2 separate regions of the Homo sapiens genome follow, and region 1 is linked to region 2. The links are contacts of gene promoters, found by promoter capture Hi-C in blood cells and fetal thymus (Javierre and others, 2016). All regions are on one chromosome and are shown on one strand. The core of a region is centred on a gene start or on the middle of the fragment in contact, and the rest is flanking DNA. Distances in the headings are between cores, read along the strand shown. Region 1 overlaps LOC105374510 (a long non-coding RNA gene). Region 2 holds the start of MED28 (mediator complex subunit 28).

The links. Contacts are between HindIII fragments. The CHiCAGO score rates a contact against its expected background, and 5 or more counts as called.
Region 1: a contact is called between a fragment that was not itself captured here and the fragment with the promoter of MED28 in region 2, in 4 of 17 cell types (endothelial precursors, total CD8 T cells, naive B cells and 1 more). The highest score is 7.5, in endothelial precursors.

The regions. Positions count from the first base shown.
Region 1 is chr4:18,592,364-18,598,204 of GRCh38, forward strand. The region is part of intron 1 of LOC105374510 (a long non-coding RNA gene); the gene reads left to right. Among named protein-coding and RNA genes, the nearest start is that of LCORL, 570 kb to the left of the region's middle. The HindIII fragment of the contact is 462 bases long and covers 3,101-3,562 here.
Region 2 is chr4:17,611,688-17,617,325 of GRCh38, forward strand. It overlaps MED28 (mediator complex subunit 28), which reads left to right and starts at 2,954. Exons shown (of 4, transcript NM_025205.5): 1 at 2,954-3,126. The coding sequence starts at 2,968. MED28-DT (MED28 divergent transcript) reads right to left here and starts at 2,893. Exons shown (of 3, transcript NR_186331.1): 1 at 2,455-2,893; 2 at 2,245-2,351. RefSeq lists enhancers at 2,299-3,498, 2,604-2,893, 2,994-3,103. The HindIII fragment of the contact is 7,436 bases long and covers 1-3,044 here.

The sequences.
Region 1 (5,841 bases), core at 2,082-4,581, 980 kb after region 2:
TCCAACCACTCTTTAACCATATTTAGTCTGTTGGTGTGGTGCTATGATGTCATTTTTAAATTAAAAGAAAACTAACCATACATTTTCTTAGTTAAGATCATACAGAGAGGAAATAAACCGTTAGGATCTGTCAAATTAATTACAATACATCCTTGCTATGGAATCTATGTTAAAAAGAGAGAGAGAGAGAAGAAAAAACGGGCTAGGTGCAGTGGTTCATGCCTGTAATCCCAGCACTTTCGGAAGCCAAGGTGGGTGGATTGCCACAGCTCAGGAGTTTGAGACTAGCCTGGGCAACATTGTGAAGCCCTGTCTCTACTAAAAATACAAAAAATTAGCGGGGTATGGTGGCACACACTTGAAATCCCAGCTGTCTGAGAGTCTGAGGCATGAGAATTTGCTTGAGCTCCTTGAGCCTGGAAGGCAGAGGTTGCAGTGAGCCGAGATCATGCCGCCGCACTGCAGCCTGGGCGATAGAATGAGACTCAGTCAAAAAAAAAAAAAAAAAAAAAAGCCTGCATGATTTTTTGTTTCTTTCTTGAAACTTCTCTACTTAAAAATTTAAAAATACATTTGAATAATAAAAAAATAATTTTTAATGGGAGAGAAATTATTTTGAATGTAAAATGAGTGTGATGGGGAGGAAAATTGTGGGTTTATGCATTAGATTGTTCAGATTCTGTGTATTTACTGTCTTTGGGAGCTGAAGTTAGTTTATTTTTTTTTTTACTTTACTTTCTTCCTGTGTAAAATGAAAATAATGACACCTATTATACACAATTACTTTAAGATTAAATGAGATAGTCCCTTTGGTGCACCTGATATATATAATCAAGATGAAATATTTTGAATGCATAGATTGGCAAGCAGGCTGCACTGTGGATTTATTGCTAGACAAATACAACTTGTGTCAATTTGAAGAAGTCACCAATAAAAATGAAAAATGCCAAACCAAATATTTCTTTGCTCCTTGTTGGAAAGTCACATAAAGAGACAAGATAATAAAACTTAAACTCAGGGACACGTTTTAAGTCCATGATTTGCCTGAAATTGTAGTTGTTAGTTGTGTTTTGCTTTCCTTCTTGTATGAAAGCACCTTTCTCTAAGTCCCTAGTGATATTTGTGCCAAACAAAATAATTGGCTCATTAGGCTGCTGTAGTATTGCCTCTCACTCGGCACCCATATCCTTCTAGTAAGCTGGAAAGAAGAAACAGAGCTCTCTATTCAGAGACCACACAGCTTGCTATCTTTTTTTGCACATCTCGAAGTCAAAGAGGACACAAAAGGATGTTTTTCTGAGCCAATTGGCAGCGCACTCTTATTCTGAACTGCTGGGGCTGGAAGTCTTTCAATGCATGGTAATACTGCCACCATGTGGTCAAACTGAGAAAACCTCGCCCAAATCCTTCAGTCGAAGAGGATTTTCCTTAACATTAATGGGACAGAAGCATTGCGCTTCTTCGACTGGGATTGTTTCACGATAGTCACAAACTATCGTGATTGTTTAGGTAAACGGTTGTCTCACATAAAGGGGCTGAGTGTACTTGATTGGGTGCTAACTGCTAATCCTCCCATTAGCGTGACTGTAACTTTAAATCATTGGTACTTTGAAGTTTCTGTTCTAGGAAATAAGGATGAGAATCTCCATGCTTCCCTATTTCATAAGGTAAGGGAGATACAGTAATATATGCATCGCAACTCTAGATGTAATGGTGTCATAAAATTTCGGGGAGAAAAGTGGGATTTGCTAACCAAAGTGCTGCTATTTGAATGCTGCCACTTTTTAGGGGTATGATCTGAAACAAGTTTTTTCATTTCCTTGGTCCATAGTTTATTGTTCTGAAGAAATGCTGTGAATATTACCTTTTTTTTTTTCTTTTGAGATGGAGTCTCGCTCTGTCGCCAAGCAGGAGTGCAGTGGTGCGATCTCGGCTCCCTGCAACCTCCACCTCCTGGGTTCAAGCCATTCTCCTGCCTCAGCCTCCCGAACAGCTGGGACTACAGGCACACGCCACCACGCCCAGCTAATTTTTGTATTTTTAGTAGAGACGGGGTTTCACCATGTTGGCCAGGATGGTCTCGATCTCTTGACCTTGTGATCCGCCCACCTCGGCCTCCCAACCATTTTTAACTAAGATATTATGTTGATTGTTTGCTGAAAAATTGCTTTTTTAAAATGTAAAATGCTACACCAATATTAGTTTGCATGATTATTATTTGAATACAGACTTAAGAATCTTTATGGCGAAAATTATGCTTGGCTGAATTAGAAGATCTGTGTCCTGGTTCCCACTTGCTCACTAGTATTTTAGGTAAAATTGGACAAGTCAGATATGAAGACATCCATTATTCCCTCTCTCATATATGGATAATGAGCTCATATTTTGTGTATCCTATGGTGAATGTTATTGACATGAACCTTTTGGGGAGATATTTTGAAGACTCTATGCGTGTCAAGCATGTTACATGTTTAGATCTTATTCTTATTTCATTCCAATAACAAGTAATTCTTTCCTCCTATTAACTGGTAATAGGGTCATTCATGGATCACAGATTTGCTTCAAAGTAAATAAATAATCCCTATAAATTCATGCCTCATTTATTATAAATTATAATGCAACCAGGAGCTAGAATCACCCATACCCCTAAAGCATACACAATTGAATATCTTCAGCTGGAGAATACAGTGTTAGCTTCTTTGTGGCAGGTGGCAATTTAAATAGATGCTCTACCTGCTGATCCTGTTGATTTTATGTGCCCTATTAAAATGCATTTTCTGAATGACTTAGTTTAACATAGCGAATAATTTACAAGAAAAATTTTCCATCTCTCTCCCCAATGTTTGAAATAAGAGCATGTTCTGCTTTTTCCCATAGCCCATTTCTCCATTAAAAGAATGTTCCACATCAGAAATATAATTCCTCTCACACTGGCATTTACAGAGGTCTCATTACATTGAACAGAACATTCTTGAGTATGGCTTGATGAACAGCTGATCCACCTCCATACACCTCACACACAGATCTTGCCAGGTGGAGAAGCAGCACAGGAAAGGGAAAACCTGTGTCCTCCTGGGTACCAGAGAACAGCTTGGCTTTAAGCTTATGGAAAAATGGAGAATACTCTCTCTCACACACACACACACATACACACACACACACACACACACACACACACACACAATATTTCTGGGAGAATATACAAAGACTTAAGAGAGATTAGCTATGAAGAATGAAGATAGGAATGAATAGTTTGGGGAGGATTGGGGAAACCTTGATTTACATTTTTCAGTGTTAATGGTGTTTTTCTTACTATAAATGCGTGAATACATATCACTTCTATGCAAAAAATGATACTCTTTAGGTATTTAAAAGAATGATATCTGCATAGGCCATGTAAGCATTCCAAGATATTTTCAATAAAAAAGGAAGTTACAGAATATGTATAGTCATATATATGTGTACATATACACATATATAATGTATGCCTATGTATACATATATCACTATATATCTAACTTCCTTTCTATTATTTATATATAATGTATGTATATATTTAGAAAGCTTTTTGTTGTTGTTGTTGAGATGGAGTCTCACTCTGTCACCAGGCTGGAATGCAGTGGCGTGATCTCGGCTTGCTGCAACCTCTGCTTCCCGGGTTCAAGCGATTCTCCTGTCTCAGCCTACCAAATAGCTGGGACTACAGGTGCGCGCCACCACACCCAGCTAATTTTTGTATTTTTAGTAGATACGGGGTTTCACCATGTTGCCCAGGATGGTCTGGATCTTCTGACATCATGATCCGCCTGCCTCAGCCTCCTAAAGTGCTGGGGTTACAGGTGTGACCCACCGCACCTGGCCAACTTTTTTATTATTTATACAGACAATGTGGTGTGTGTGTGTGTGTGTGTGTGTGTATATATATATATATATATACATATATATATACACACACATATATATATAGACAATATGTGTGTATGTATGTATATACTTAGAAAACTTATGAACGTCTACATAGCCATATAGTTAAAAATTATTATAAGTGAAAAGATTGAAAGGGCTCCAGTGAAGAAAACATGAACTTTAAAACTGTTCTTGCATATTCTGAGTTTTTGATTGAATTTGTATACTAAAAACGCATTTGTGTATTACTTATGTTGTTCAAAAAGTATATATTTTTAGGGATCAGTCAGATTAGGTGGCTGTTTTGTGGCGGATGAAATATACCCACTTGCCCTGGGCTGTTTCCTGCAGTCTCTGCCCAGGATTTCTAGTCTCTATGCTGAGCCTGTCTGTAAGGTGTTTTCTACCCAGCCCGGACTGGATGATGGTCCTTCACTCTAGTCCCGTAATATTCCACTCCCACTTCTACCTGAGAATTAACTACACTGCATTTTACCTGCTTCTTAATTATCCGACCCAGATAGAACGCAACTTATGGTCACATTTCTACATAGTTTCTGATGTATAATAGGCTCTAAAATCAATGTTTATAAAATGGATGGATAAATGGAAACAGGGAAGAAACAAGCAGGAAAGGAAGGAAGGAAAGGAGGAGAGGATGGAGGAAAGAAGGGAGAAATATACATAAAAGAAGTGGTCGAATTGGATCTTCATCAAGAACAAAAATATCTGAGTTTTTATTCAGCTGTGTCTGAAGAAAAAATGATGGAGAAATGAGAATTCCAGTCATTATAGAGATATACATCATTGGGGACAAGTATTTTTCTTCTGTTTTTGTGTGTGTGTGTGAGTATATTTCTTTTTTATTATTATTATACTTTAAGTTTTAGGGTACATGTGCACAATGTACAGGTTAGTTACATATATATACATGTGCCATGGTGGTGTGCTGCACCCATTAACTAGTTATTTAACATTAGGTATATCTCCTAATGCTATCCTTCCCCCTTCCCCCCACCCCACAACAGGCCCTGATGTGTGATGTTCCCCTTCCTGTGTCCATGTGTTCTCATTGTTCAATTCCCACCTATGAGTGAGAACATGCGGTGTTTGGTTTTTTGTCCCTGTGATAGTTTGCTGAGAATGATGGTTTCCAGCTTCATCCATGTCCCTACAAAGGACATGAACTCATCTTTTTTTATGGCTGCATAGTATTCCATGGTGTATATGTGCCACATTTGCTTAATCCAGTCTATCATTGATGGACATTTGGGTTGCTTCCAAGTCTTTGCTATTGAATAGTGCTGCAATAAACATACGTGTGCTTGTGTCTTTATAGCAGCATGATTTATAATCCTTTGGGTATATACCCAGTAATGGGATTGCTGGGTCAAATGGTATTTCTAGTTCTAGATCCCTGAGGAATCGCCACACTGACTTCCACAATGGTCGAACTAGTTTACAGTCCCACTAACAGTGTAAAAGTGTTCCTATTTCTCCACATCCTCTCCAGCACCTGTTGTTTCCTGACATTTTAATGATCACCATTCTAACTGGTGTGAGATGGTATCTCATTGTGGTTTTGATTTGCATTTCTCTGATGGCCAGTGATGGTGAGCATTTTTTCATGTGTCTTTTGGCTACATAAATGTCTTCTTTTGAGAAGTGTCTGTTCATATCCTTCACCCACTTTTTGATGGGGTTGTTTGTTTTTTTCTTGTAAATTTGTTTGAGTTCATTGTAGATTCTGGATATTAGCCCTTTGTCAGATGAGTAGGTTGCAAAAATTTTTTCCCGTTCTGTAGGTTGCCTTTTCACTCTGGTGGTAGTTTCTTTTGCTGTGCAGAAGCTCTTTAGTTTAATTAGATCCCATTTGTCAATTTTGGCTTTTGTTGCCATTGCTTTTGGTATTTTAGACATGAAGTCCTTGCCCAT
Region 2 (5,638 bases), core at 1,704-4,203:
GAGAATTGCTGGAGCCTGGGAGGCGGAAGTTATGGTGAGCTGTAATTGTGAAACTGCACTGCAGCCTGGGCAACAGAGTAAGACCCTGTCTCAAAAAAAATATATATATATAGAGAGAGATTTGCAAAAAAGTAAAATGATGCCATACTTTTTACTTATTCCTTATTTTAGAAAATAGAGTATTAGTTTTAATAAAGATTGTTTTTGTTAACATTTAATGAATTATTTTTTAATGAATTGATTTTTAAAATTCTGTTTTTGTTTTTTTTGAGACGGAGTCTTGCTCTCAACCAGGCTGCAGTGTAGTGGCATGATCTCGGCTCACTGCAAGCTCTGCCTCCTGGGTTCACCCCATTCTCCGGCCTCAGCCTCCCAAGTAACTGGGACTACAGGCGCCCGCCACAACGCCTGGCTAATTTTTTGTATTTTTAGTAGAGATGGGGTTTCACCATGTTAGCCAGGATGGTCTTGATCTCCTGACCTTGTGATCCGGCTGCCTCGGCCTCCCAAAGTGCTGGGATTACAGGCATGAGCCACTGCCTCCAGCCTAAAATTCTCAGTTTTAACTTATCAGATAAATATTAGCAGACTTAACCCACATAAACAAAAACTTTGGGATCCTCAATAATTTTTAGGAGTGTAAAGGGGTCTTGAGACCAAAACTGTCTGAAAACTGCTGGAGTAGGCTTGTTTCCTCCTGGCGGTCTCTTCTGGTTCTTTCAGTCATCACATATTTATTATATCTATTATGCCAGGCACCATTCTAGATTCTGGGGATACAGGTGAATAAGATGGGCAGGCTCTGATGCACGGAACTTATTTTCTAGTTGGCATGTGTATGACAGAGAGAGAAGGAGGAGGAGGGCAGGTGATTCAGTTATGAAAAAATGAACAAGATAATTTCAGATTACATAAATGTTGTGAAGAAAATTAAACAGGGGAAAGTACTTAGGAGTGGGGATCTAAGTGAAACTGAGGCTGGGAAGATGACTTGATCCGAGCCTGGTTGGCAAAGGGAAGCTCCTGCTTTTTCTCTGAACATTTCTGCCCTGGCTCACTCCTCTGGCAATGAGCTTCCTGTGGTTCCTTAAACATCCCAGGCAGGCTGCTTCTTCAGGGATCCTTCGGTGTAGAAAGCACTCCTAGTTAAATTTTCATGCCAGTCACTACAGTCCAGATCTCCTTGGAGAGGCCTCCTCCAATCACCTATCTCAAAGAACACCCCTCTCACTAGCCATCCCCTTACTGGGTTTCATTTTCCTTCCCAGCTCTTCTCTCTGCACAATATTGCTATGTATTTATGTGCTTGTCTGTCTCCTTCCAGAGATTTGGGATGATTGCTATAACCTCCAGATCATTAAATAGTGCCTGGGAAGTGGAGCGCTCAGTAAGTGTGCTGGGTAATAACTGTAAAATCAGATATAATGAAAAAAAGTTATTTGGTTTTAAAGAGATAAATAAGAAGGTTGGGCACGGTGGCTCACGCCTGTAATCCTAGCACTTTGGAAGACCGAGGCGGGCGGATTGTCTGAGCTCAGGAGTTCGAGACCAGCCTGGGCAACAAGGTGAAACCCCGGCGCTACTAAAATACAGAAAAACTAGCCGAGCGGCGGGCGCCTGTAGTCCCAGCTACTCGGAAGGCTGAGGCAGGAGAATTGCTTGAACCCAGGAGGCGGAGGTTTCAGTGAGCCGAGATCGCGCCACTGCATTCCAGCCTGGGCGACAGAGCGAGACTCCGTCACCAAAAAAAAAGAGAGAGATAAGCAAATGTTAAAAGCAGGTTACTACAAGATTAGCAGCCTAGTGCCGGGCGCGGTGGCTCACGCCTGTAATCTCAGCACTTTGGGAGGCCGAGTCGGGCGGATCACGAGGTTAGGAGATCGAGACCATCCTGGCTAACACGGTGAAACCCCATCTCTACCAAATATACAAAAAATTAGCTGGGCGTGGTGGCGGGCGCCTGTAGTCCCAGCTACTCGGGATGCTGAGGCAGGAGAATGGCGTGAACCCGGGAGGCGGAGCTTGCAGTGAGCCAAGATCGCGCCACTGCACTCCAGCCTGGGCGACAAAGCGAGACTCTGTCTCAAAAAAAAAAAATTAGCAGCCTGGCGCCTTGGCTCATTACTGTATTCCCAACACTTTGGGAGGCCGCGGCGGTAGAATCACTTGAGCTCAGTAAAACACCTGACTCAACTAAAAAAAAAAAAAAAAAAAAAAAAAAAAGCCCGTCGCGACTGCACGCACCTGTGGTCCTAGCTACTTGGGTGGCTGAAGTAGGGGGATTGTTTGAGCCCGGGAGGTCGAGCCCTGATCATGACACTGCACTCCGGCCAGGGCGACAGAACGAGACCCTGAGAAAAAAGAAAAGAAAGAAAAAAAAAGATTAGCATAGTGACTTTCTCTTTGATGTAACCATAAATATTTAAAGACATCAGTGCCGGGCACATTGGGAACCTCAACAAAGTTGTTTCCGTTATCCATCTCCGACCAGAATTCAGGAAGAACTTTGCCTGTCTTGTTCCCGCTATAACCAATGACTCAACAAATGTTTGTGGAGTGAGTGGGTGACCCTCTCCTTTTACCAACGGTAAACAGCCCGCGGAAAGAAAAAGTGACTTAGCCAAAGTCTCTCCAGGCATTTGGGGCAGAGTCGGGACTAGCATAGTAGTATCCTGACTCTCGCAGGAGGGCTCGCTCCACTGTAGTTATTAATTCTCCTCTCCACACAACCAGGTCTAATCCGGCCAAAGTCTTCAATTCTTAAGCTAAGAAAAAAGGAAAATACATGTAAACTCTGTTTTGCGATAGACAAGAAAACAGAAGAATTAAAAATCCTCCTTCCGGGGTGCACCAGAATCCTCCCATCGCTCGGTCCTGTCACGTGACCACGCCTACTACACCAGCCACGTGAGCTTCTGAGCCGGCTTCCGCGCAGGCGCAGTGGATCTCTCTTGCGCCATTCCAAACATGGCGGCTCCACTAGGGGGTATGTTTTCTGGGCAGCCACCCGGTCCCCCTCAGGCCCCGCCGGGCCTTCCGGGCCAAGCTTCGCTTCTTCAGGCAGCTCCAGGCGCTCCTAGACCTTCCAGCAGTACTTTGGTGGACGAGTTGGAGTCATCTTTCGAGGTAATATAAGACATGGGCGTCTTTGTCCCTAGCCTTCCCTTTTTTCTGAAACGTGAACTGCGCGTACGCGTATCTCCTCCAGGGATCCGAGCAACTAATTCACAAATGGGGAAACTGAGGCTTAAAGTAAGTCACTTGCTTTAGGCTTCCCCGTGGCCCGTATTCAATTCAGGTCTGCTGGCGGGGGCGCGTAAACTCGACGTTTGTGGAAACGTGAACCCGAAGTTTGCCTAAACCCCAAACTTGGAACCCTTCCAGATTCCCAGCCGGTCCTTAGTCTCATCCCCGAGCACCGTTTCTTGCATCCCTGCATGTTTAGTAAGAGGCTCAAGCCTTTTCGGAGCTGAGAGTTTCACTGCTGTATCCTGTATCCTTTCCGCTGGGCTTCACCTTTAAACGATCCTAAAGGGACTCTTAAGAGCGGAAATTGACTTAAGTTACCAGGCGCAGCTTGGTACTAAGAGCTGAGGAAGGAGGAATGCTGGAGGTTAGGGAGGGAGGGAGGCACAGGTGACCCAATCTCTCAGTTTTGCCCAAGGAGTTTACCTTGTAGCAAGAAAGGTGAACTGTATATTGAGGGAAGATAGAGAGGTGAAAATAAGTGCTCTGGTGATTTCCAGTAGTCTTTAAAGTGGAAGATGAGCTATTCCTGTGTAGTAATAAAGTAATGTACGTTCAAATTGGAGTTAACTTTTCCACATTTTAAATCCCAGTTTTGCCGGGCGCGGTGGCTCACGCCTGTAATCCCAGCACTTTGGGAGGCCGAGGCTGGCGGATCATGAGGTCAGGAGTTCGAGACCAGCCTGACCAACATGGTGAAACCCTGACTCTACTAAAAATACAAAAATTAGCCAGGCGTGGTGGCGTGCGCCTGTAATCCCAGGTACTCGAGAGGCTGAGGCAGGAGAATCGCTTGAACCTGGGATGCGGAGGTTGCAGTGAGCGGAGACCGCGCCATTGCACTCCAGCGTGGGTGACAAGAGCTCGACTCCGTCTCAAAAAAGTAAAATAAAATATAAATAAATAAAAATCCCAACTTTGTGACTTTTGTATTGTATCTAATAGCACAGTGGTAAATGAATATAATTTGCAAGCGATTATTCAGACTGCATGGACAAAATGCTTTTACCACACGGATGTACAAAGATTTAGAAATAAATGATTTGAGATGGAGTCTCACTCTCTCGCCCAGGCTGGAGTACAGTGGCGCAATTTCGGCTTACTGCAACCTCCGCCTCCCGGGTTCAAGCGATTTTCCTGCCTCAGCCTCCCGAGTTGCTGGGATTACAGGCACCTGCCACCATGCTATTTTTTTTATTTTTTAGTAGAGACAGGGCTTCACTATCTTGGCCAGGCTGGTCTCGAACTCCTGACCTCGTGATCCACCCGCCTCGGCCTCCCAAAGTGCTGGGATTACAGGCGTGAGCCACTGCGCCTAGCCAGAAATAAATGATTTAAAGGACAGACCGTTTAGGAGGAGGAGGAGGAGACACCTTTGAGGTGGTGCTAAGTGGTAAAGGAAGGGGCTGGTGAACTTTAGAGCAGCATCTAGCATTGTGCTTGAGGGGAGCTGGCTCTCAGTCATGGGCACTTGCTGAAAGACTGGCCCTGTACAAGTCTTAGCCAAAGTTGACTCCCAGCACCCTGCTGCTTAAAAACGTACAGTGGCTGCTTGTTGCCCTTGAGATAAGATCAAGATGTTTAGTGTGGTCTCCCAGGCTTTGCATGTTGCGTTCTCTCCTTCAGACTCGTTTCCTTACTGCAGCCACACAAGACTTTCCCACGTGTACCATTTGTTTTCTCTTTGGGCTTCCAGGCCGCTCCTCAGCTCACTGCATCACTTCCTCAGTGGACCCTTCCCTGGCCTTCTTTTTAATACTTACCATTAAATTCGGCTCCATGAAGTCAGAGACTACCTGTTTTGTACCCCCACCCCTCACATTGTGTAACCTGTAGTGCTAATACAGTGGTAGTAGATAGCAAGTGCTAGATGAATATTTGTCAGACATTGAAGGAATCTGTAGTGTGGAGCCTGTAGTGTAGTTGGCTTGTGCACAGAACTCCTTGCCTGATTCACATATATGTCTGTAGGTGCCCTTGAGAGAGAACTCCCTCTGGGACTTGATTATCCATACAGAGAATACAGAGAAAACCAGTCCCTGCCTTCAGGAAGCTTGTAATAAACGGCAGGCAGTTGCCTTGTTGTAGGATCACTGCTCTGATAGAAGAAACCTGGGGTACTGTGGGAGCACATATAGGTGTGGACATCAAAGAAGGCTTCCCAGAGAGCAGGAAAGCCAAAGAAGCATTTTGACTTAGCCAGGTGAAGGGGAGTGGGAGTGGTGCGAGCTGGATCCTCTCTGCTGCTGGGTGATCACGATCTGTCTAGTCTTGTCTCACGATTCAATTCAAAGGCCACATTTTCTTTGGAACTTTTCCTGTTTCCTTCCTTGTGTTCTGTGTGGACCTCAATTTTCACAGCCTCCAGTGGCACATAGCAGCACCTACTTAC